Linked DNA regions of Homo sapiens: region 1 is linked to region 2. The links are contacts of gene promoters, found by promoter capture Hi-C in blood cells and fetal thymus (Javierre and others, 2016). All regions are on one chromosome and are shown on one strand. Each heading gives the region's core, a stretch centred on a gene start or on the middle of the fragment in contact. The rest is flanking DNA. Distances are from core to core; before and after follow the strand shown. Region 1 has its middle 21 kb from the start of KRT76. Region 2 holds the start of KRT2 (keratin 2).

The links. Contacts are between HindIII fragments. The CHiCAGO score rates a contact against its expected background, and 5 or more counts as called.
Region 1: a fragment that was not itself captured here is called in contact with the fragment with the promoter of KRT2 in region 2 in 3 of 17 cell types (naive CD8 T cells, non-activated CD4 T cells and total CD8 T cells); the score reaches 5.3 in naive CD8 T cells.

Annotation. Positions count from the first base shown.
Region 1 is chr12:52,754,532-52,758,036 of GRCh38, forward strand. No RefSeq gene overlaps it. Among named protein-coding and RNA genes, the nearest start is that of KRT76, 21 kb to the right of the region's middle. The HindIII fragment of the contact is 1,288 bases long and covers 1,482-2,769 here.
Region 2 is chr12:52,650,304-52,653,628 of GRCh38, forward strand. KRT2 (keratin 2) reads right to left here and starts at 1,908. Exons shown (of 9, transcript NM_000423.3): 1 at 1,255-1,908; 2 at 36-250. The coding sequence starts at 1,839. The HindIII fragment of the contact is 4,749 bases long and covers 1-3,325 here.

The DNA of each region.
Region 1 (3,505 bases), core at 876-3,375, 100 kb after region 2:
GCAGGTCCAATAAGGTGAGTTGGTGGCTTTTTCATTCCACCTTAACCCTGGGCGTCCACTCCTGTCATTCTGCTGTCTGCCTCTCAGAATGAACAAGGCTCACCCGGGAATCTGGAAAGAGTTGAGAGGATCAAATGAAAGGGTAGTTTCCTCCTAATTTTAGCACCTCCAAGTCTCACACCATGTGTGTCCATGGAACTCCCCAGAGAGTTTGTCCCTGGGTCTGCAACACAACCTGCACTCTCACTATTCTAGCCAGGGAGAGGGGGATTCAGCCAGAATATCCCAGGCTGAGCCAGGGGTCTGAATGAATGGACTGGATACTTGAAGGCATTCATTCATCTGAGACTGAGCAATGCTCACCATTCTGGTGACCAAGAGAGTTCCTAACATCCCCTCTGTCTGCCTGTGGCTCCCTGGGTGGCTCTGTTGATTCTGTTTTTCAACCTGCTGCCCAGGGAGCCTCATGTCACTCATCTCACATCCCGTGCCCAGTCTCTTCCACTTTCAAACATGCCCCCTTAGTCCCCTTTTCAGGCCCCTGTGTATTCTGCTGCCTGCATTCCCTTCCTGCCTCTCCCCTGCAGTGAGGGCTGCACCCTTGTCCACCTGACAACAGATGCCATGATGACAGGATCCTCTCTGCCTGGTTCTCCAGGGCTCCCCATTGCCTAGCACAGTGCCTGGCCCATGGTAGGCTCCCAGATTTTGTGGGATCAGCAACTATTCGGTTCCTCCTGCTTATAGCATTGTCCTCTGTGTGGGTAGTTGTGTGTCCCGCCTCCACTGTCATGCTGGAGAAGAAAAGTCTTGGCCCTCCAGACAGCCTTCTACCCAATCATCTCCTGCCCCAAACCCAGGACAGGAGCCTGTATGCATGAACTTAAGATGGGGTTTTGAGATACAGACTGACTAAATCAGCTGCCACTTGTAGGAGTGGCTGCCCTCTCTGCTAAACATGCCCACCTGTGTACCAAGCCCATGTTAAGCACATGGGAAATGCAGCCAAATCATCCAACTGGAGGGAAAAGAGACCCAGCTGATTGGAAGGTCTTGAATCTCACCTCACACCCTCACATTTTCTCAGCCCCTAGAAGCCCCTAACATACCAGCTTGGATGCTTCTCTTGGCAGCCTGACACCCTCAGGGGCCTGGGTAGAGGCTGAAGATTATCCTCAAAATAAACAAAAGAGAGGCAATTTTATTAAGAATTCTAACCGGGGGTAACAGCAACAGTCATCCTGGCTATAAGGAGAGAGGATCTGAATCCAGTGGTTTCTGGTGAGCACAGGCCAAGAAAAAATTTACGCTACAGTAACGGGGGTGCTAGAAGGCCTTCCCTGCAGAGAGGCCAGAGAGCTGGGCACTCCAAGCTGCCATGCCATTGCCTCTGGAGGGAAGAGAAGTTTTGACTGGGTTTCAGGGGTAGGTTCACTGCCAACTGACCCTGTGCACGAGGATAAACAACTTGATGACCGAGAAGCTTCTAGTTACAGTTTATTAAAATTAAAATAAAAATAAAGATCATGCTCAGGTTGCCCTGGAGGCTGCAGTTCTTTCCACCTCTGGTAGGTGCTTATACCAGGCTTAGAACAGACACATTCTTTGGCACCACCACATCAACAGGAATCTAATGTTGTCCTTGCCTCTGTAGACAGCACCACAGGAGTAGGTCATGGGATGGCAAGTCAGCTCTCAAAGACTTTGGGAAGGGCACTCATTGCAAGACACACAAGACAACATGGGAGCTAAAGTTTAAGCAAACCCAGTTCTGTTCCATTTATTGAATAGCTTCTTGATCATATAACAAGAAGTTTACAGGAAGGAGGAAATGTGTTCTGTTAATACCCAGAAAGCAAACAGCCTGACACTGTCACCCAGAGCATGAGGCAGACACGGATGGGACCAGAAACAGCCACGTGACTATTGCAGTTGCAGGAGGGGATTGAAATGGGAACTGTGGAGGGCGGTTAGTCAAGGAAGACTTCCCAGAGAAGGTATCTTGAGGTGAGCTGATGGAGATGATAAAGAGTATCCCATGTTGCGGGCGTAAAGAGACTTGCAGAAACCCATCTGTGCAGCAAATATTACGCTTCATTTGAGGCAAGATCATCAAAGGCTGCTGAAGGCTACAAAGCAGAGCGTGGTATATCCACAAATGCAGGGATATGTACCAGCCTGACCCATTGAGTGGGAAGAATTTATGCTGTTTCTGACAGCCTGGCAAACTGCAGTGGGTCATGAGTTTGGATGTGGCTCACTGCTCCCCAAAGATCACCCAGAGTCTCTAGTCTCTCTTTGCTCCCATCCACCCCTGCCAACATGATCTTATGCAAGTACCATTTTCAAAATGTCACTCTCCTACCCAAAAGTTGACTAGCCTGCCTCTTCTAGCAGAACGATCTCCTCTTTTGACCTTAAATGCCCTCCCCTTTCCCTTTTTCTTTCCTCCATCCTGATTCCACCACTTTAATGTTAAAACTCTGTCATTCCATCCAAGCCAATCTTCTTGCTATCATTTGGTAGGAAGTTGAACAAATTACCTCCACGGTTTCTTCCCCCTGTTGGGTTCTGGAATACCATGCATCTCCTCCCCACCACCACCATCGTCCTTGCTAAGTTCCACCTCTGAGAGGATGACCCACTCAGCAGCCTGGCCATGGAATCCCTGGGTCTTCTCAATTCCGGTCACCTTCTCCTTCACTCCACCTCAACCACACACTCCATGCCTGCAGCCTGGACCATCACCAAGAACTGCTGCCTCCTAGAAGCTTAATTCCCAAGCCCCACTTTCTGGCCATAACTTTCCATCTCCCAGGGCTCTCCCAATTAACTCTCATTACATCTGCTCTTCACTCATGTAAATAATCTCATTGTCTTAACCCCTTCATTTTTTCCAAGGCTGTTAGCTCTCTCCTAGTTTCTTTTCCTGCTCTTCTCACATTAAGCATTATTCATTCATTCAACAAATACTTTCTGAGCATCTACTATATGCTAGGCATTGACCAGGTGGTGGAAAGTGGTGAACAAAATTGATGCTATCTCATTCCTCATAGAAGGAAGACTGGACTTCACCACCTGGACGACCTTCTCACCAGCCTCATCAATTCCCCTATTCCCCTATCTTTCAACCATCAGCCTAACAAAGTCCCTTCTCAAGGCCATGACTAAAACTTCCTTCCCCCACCTGCTGCAGGCACTGAGCTCTGCTAAGGGAGACCACCCAAGCCTAGCTTCCTACTTCACCAAGAACACTGAAGCCATCAGGAGTGATCCCCTCAGCATCCCTTCTGTGCCTTGACTCCTGCCTGCCTCCACACCCACCTGATTTTCCTTTTTCTTGTACAAGGCTTCAAGGTGTATCCCCACCCATCTCCTCTAATTCTTTGCTCCATCAGTTACCCTCCTCCCTCTCCTGCCCCTCCTCTCAACCTCTCCTCTCATACCCAAGTCTTTCCCACCCTTACAGTACCTCTTATCACCCCATGGCACCTTCTTGCTATCA
Region 2 (3,325 bases), core at 658-3,157:
TTTATCTCCACTCAGCGTTTCACTCTGCCACCTACTTCTTCTTATAATCCTCCACAAGATCCTGCATGTTATTCAGCTCTGAATTCTGTGATGTTCTTTCTGCAGTGAGCCCATCCAGATATCTCTTGAGGCTGTCGATATACCCCTGGAAGATGGGCTCCAGGTTGATGGGGCGGGTGCCAACATTCATTTGTTGTAGCAGCTCCCATTTGGTCTGTAACACCTGGTTCTGCTGCTCCAAGAACCGCACCTGCCATGACCAGAAGGAGAGCACATGAGTTCTAGATCATCCTTCACACCAAGCAAGCCACGCTGGCCAGGGGCAGCTCAGGTGCTGCTTCAGGACCTCGAGAAGTGTCTGAGGCTGGATGCCGAGTCATGACTGGCAGAGCTTCTGAGCTCCCTGCTTTCGCCCCTGGAAAGTCCCACAGACTCCTAATGCTACATCCGGCTCTCTCCACGCAGAGGAGACTCTTTGCTGCTTCACTGCTCACTGGTTTGTTTGCAGCTGCTCCCAATACTCTAGACCATTTCCCTCCCCGCATCCTGGTTGAATTTCCAGCCAAGATCCCATAAATTCTGGGGAAAACCGAAAGCAGCCATCTGCTGGCACTGCTCGCAAGGGTGCTGAGTATGAGAGTCCCAGAGGGCAGGGCTCCTCAGCCTGATTTTTAAGAGCCTTGTAAATCCCTGCCTATTTCAAGGCAGATAAACCAAGACAGGTTCGTCTGCCTTGAAATAGGAGAAAAGCCAGTAACACTCCGAAGTGACACCAATAAAGACTTTATGGATCACAAAACTGAGAACGCTTCTCTTGAAGGCAGGAATTTCCTGCATTCCCAAGCAGATATTTCAGGTTCAGCTTCCCAGAGTTTAGTAATCACTGCTAAGGAAGGAAACACTATCTCAGAAGACGATGGCTTCCAAAACCTGCTGCTCCAGTGGCCTGTCCCAAGGATCAGTTCAATACTTGCCTATATCCATTTTTTATGGTTTTCAGAATTTTCCATAAATATTATTTATATGGACTGTAACAATAAGGTCAAAGGGACAAATGCTTCCTAAGTGCAGGCTGTTATGGGAAATGTAACCCACAAAGCTGGCGTCTTTTCCATCTGGAAACCGCAAATGACCCAGGCTACTGCGGTACACCACTGGCTCCTAAGAAATACAAATCTGTGCCATTTTCTTTTTGGTTGGCTCTGGAAGTGAAGTGGCCTGAGCATCAGTGGGAGCCGTCTTCTCCAGAGTCACCTTGTCAATGAAGGAGGCAAATTTGTTGTTGAGAGTTTTGATCTGCTCACGCTCTTGGGCCTTCACATTCTGGATCTCTGGGTCAACTTTCACGTTGAGAGGCTGCAGGAGGCTCTGGTTGACAGAGACTTCGTGGATGCCACCAGGGTATCCTCCAGGCCCAAAGCCACCAGGACCCCCTAAACCTCCAACACCACCAGGGCCCCCAAAACCTCCAAAGCGGCCTCCACCAAAGCCGCCTCCACCGAAACCACCACCACTGAAGCCGCTGCCACCTCCAAAGCTGCTGCCGCCTCCAAAACCACCTCCTCTGCCACCAAATCCACCAGCGGCGCCAAAGCCACCACCTCCTCCAGCCACACTAATGGAGATGCTCTTGGTCCCTCCAAGGCCAACAAGACTCCGACTGCCAAAGCCGCCTCCACCGAAGCCCCCGCCACCACCACCATGGCGGCTCAAGCAGGAGAAGCTGGAAGTTGATCTCCGGCTTCCACCAGACACCACAGCTGAGCCGCTGCTGAAGCCCCGGAATCCTCCTCCACCTCCTCCTCTTCCTCGAGATTTGCAAGAGATCTGACAACTCATGATGCCTTTGTCCAGGGAGGAAAGTCACAGGCTCTTGAGAAGAGTCAAGGCTGGAGACTCAACTGTGCTGCTGGGAGGCTTTCAGGGTCCCCTTATATACCTGCCAACTAGGTGTTGTGTACATGGGTGTGGATCCACTTATACGTGGGTTTGGTCTGCCTGGGAGCTATTCCTGGTGCGTGATTATCAAGCTAATAGCCATTAAAAATCTACTAATCAGCTCCATCCCAGAACTTGCTTTGATTGCAAACTTCTGTTTATCTGGGCATCTGTCATGCAATTTGATTTTTGTAAAATCATCAAAAGAGGAGATCAGGGTTTGGGTTTCTCAATCTGGAAAAGGACCTTCTGCAGAATGCTGCTCCCTGTTCTGGACCTGCCCAAGGGAAGTCAGCTACCACCCATGCTTGTGCAGGCTCACCACCCCAGTTCAACAATGAAAGGGATGGTGGGTTTAGAGACTGCAAGAGCCCCTCAATGCCAGCCTTGTAGTTCTCTTGTAGTTTCCCTCTTTCCCAGAAAGAGCCCCAACTAGTGCAGGGGAGACTGCAAAGGTCTTAAATGACCTTAAATGCTAATTGGAAATCGACCTCCTCTTACAGAAAGTAATTGGCCTCGGATACTGCAAAAGAGGTGTCGATTTTCAAAATATCTTGGCTCTTTTCTTCCCATGCCACACCAAAAATACACAATAACTAGGCACCGAATAGAGATTTTTTATAACCATGATGGTTTGTATAACCATCAACTGTCCCTTGTCTACATGAACACCCAGAGGTTGAGAGGTATGAGAAAAGTTTCGCTGTTTCTGGACCTGTGTGATGCGGGACACCAAGTGAAAGTTTGCAAACCAAGATCCAAGTGTATATTGATTCAGTCAGTCAGTAATCACGTATTGCCTGGTGATCCTGGGAAGTGATTAGGAAGTCAGGCTCTTCAATGACATCCACAGATGCTTGAGGATAAGAAGACCATCCAGCCTGCACAGAGCACTCACACTTAAACTCAACCACTTCCTCTGTCCATGTGGCCAACTATGTGGGAGAGGTTCTTGGAGTAATAAAACTGAATTTAGTCAGAAATTCTGGGTTTGAGTCCCAGTTTTGCTATTTATTGGCTGTGAGGCCTTGAATGAAACCCTGAGGCTCTGTGGTCCCAGCTATAAAATGGGAAATTCGTATGAAGTGTTTTGAAAACCACCGTGCACAATAAAATGTCAGTATCATTATTGTTTGGGGTGAGACAAAGATAATTCCTTTTCCTTTCCCCCTTGCCATGTTACTGTCTTCTGGCTACTATGAACATGCACTCTCCACAGGCATCATAAATTACAGAACCAGGTGGTTCAGATCCTAGTACCAAGTTATCACAAAATAATGTAAAAAACATAAGTTTGAGGTCAAATCCCAATTTTCTTGTATCTTAGTTAAATGACCTCAGATAATCCATAATCCTCTTCAAGCCTCAGTTTCCTCATCTATAAAAA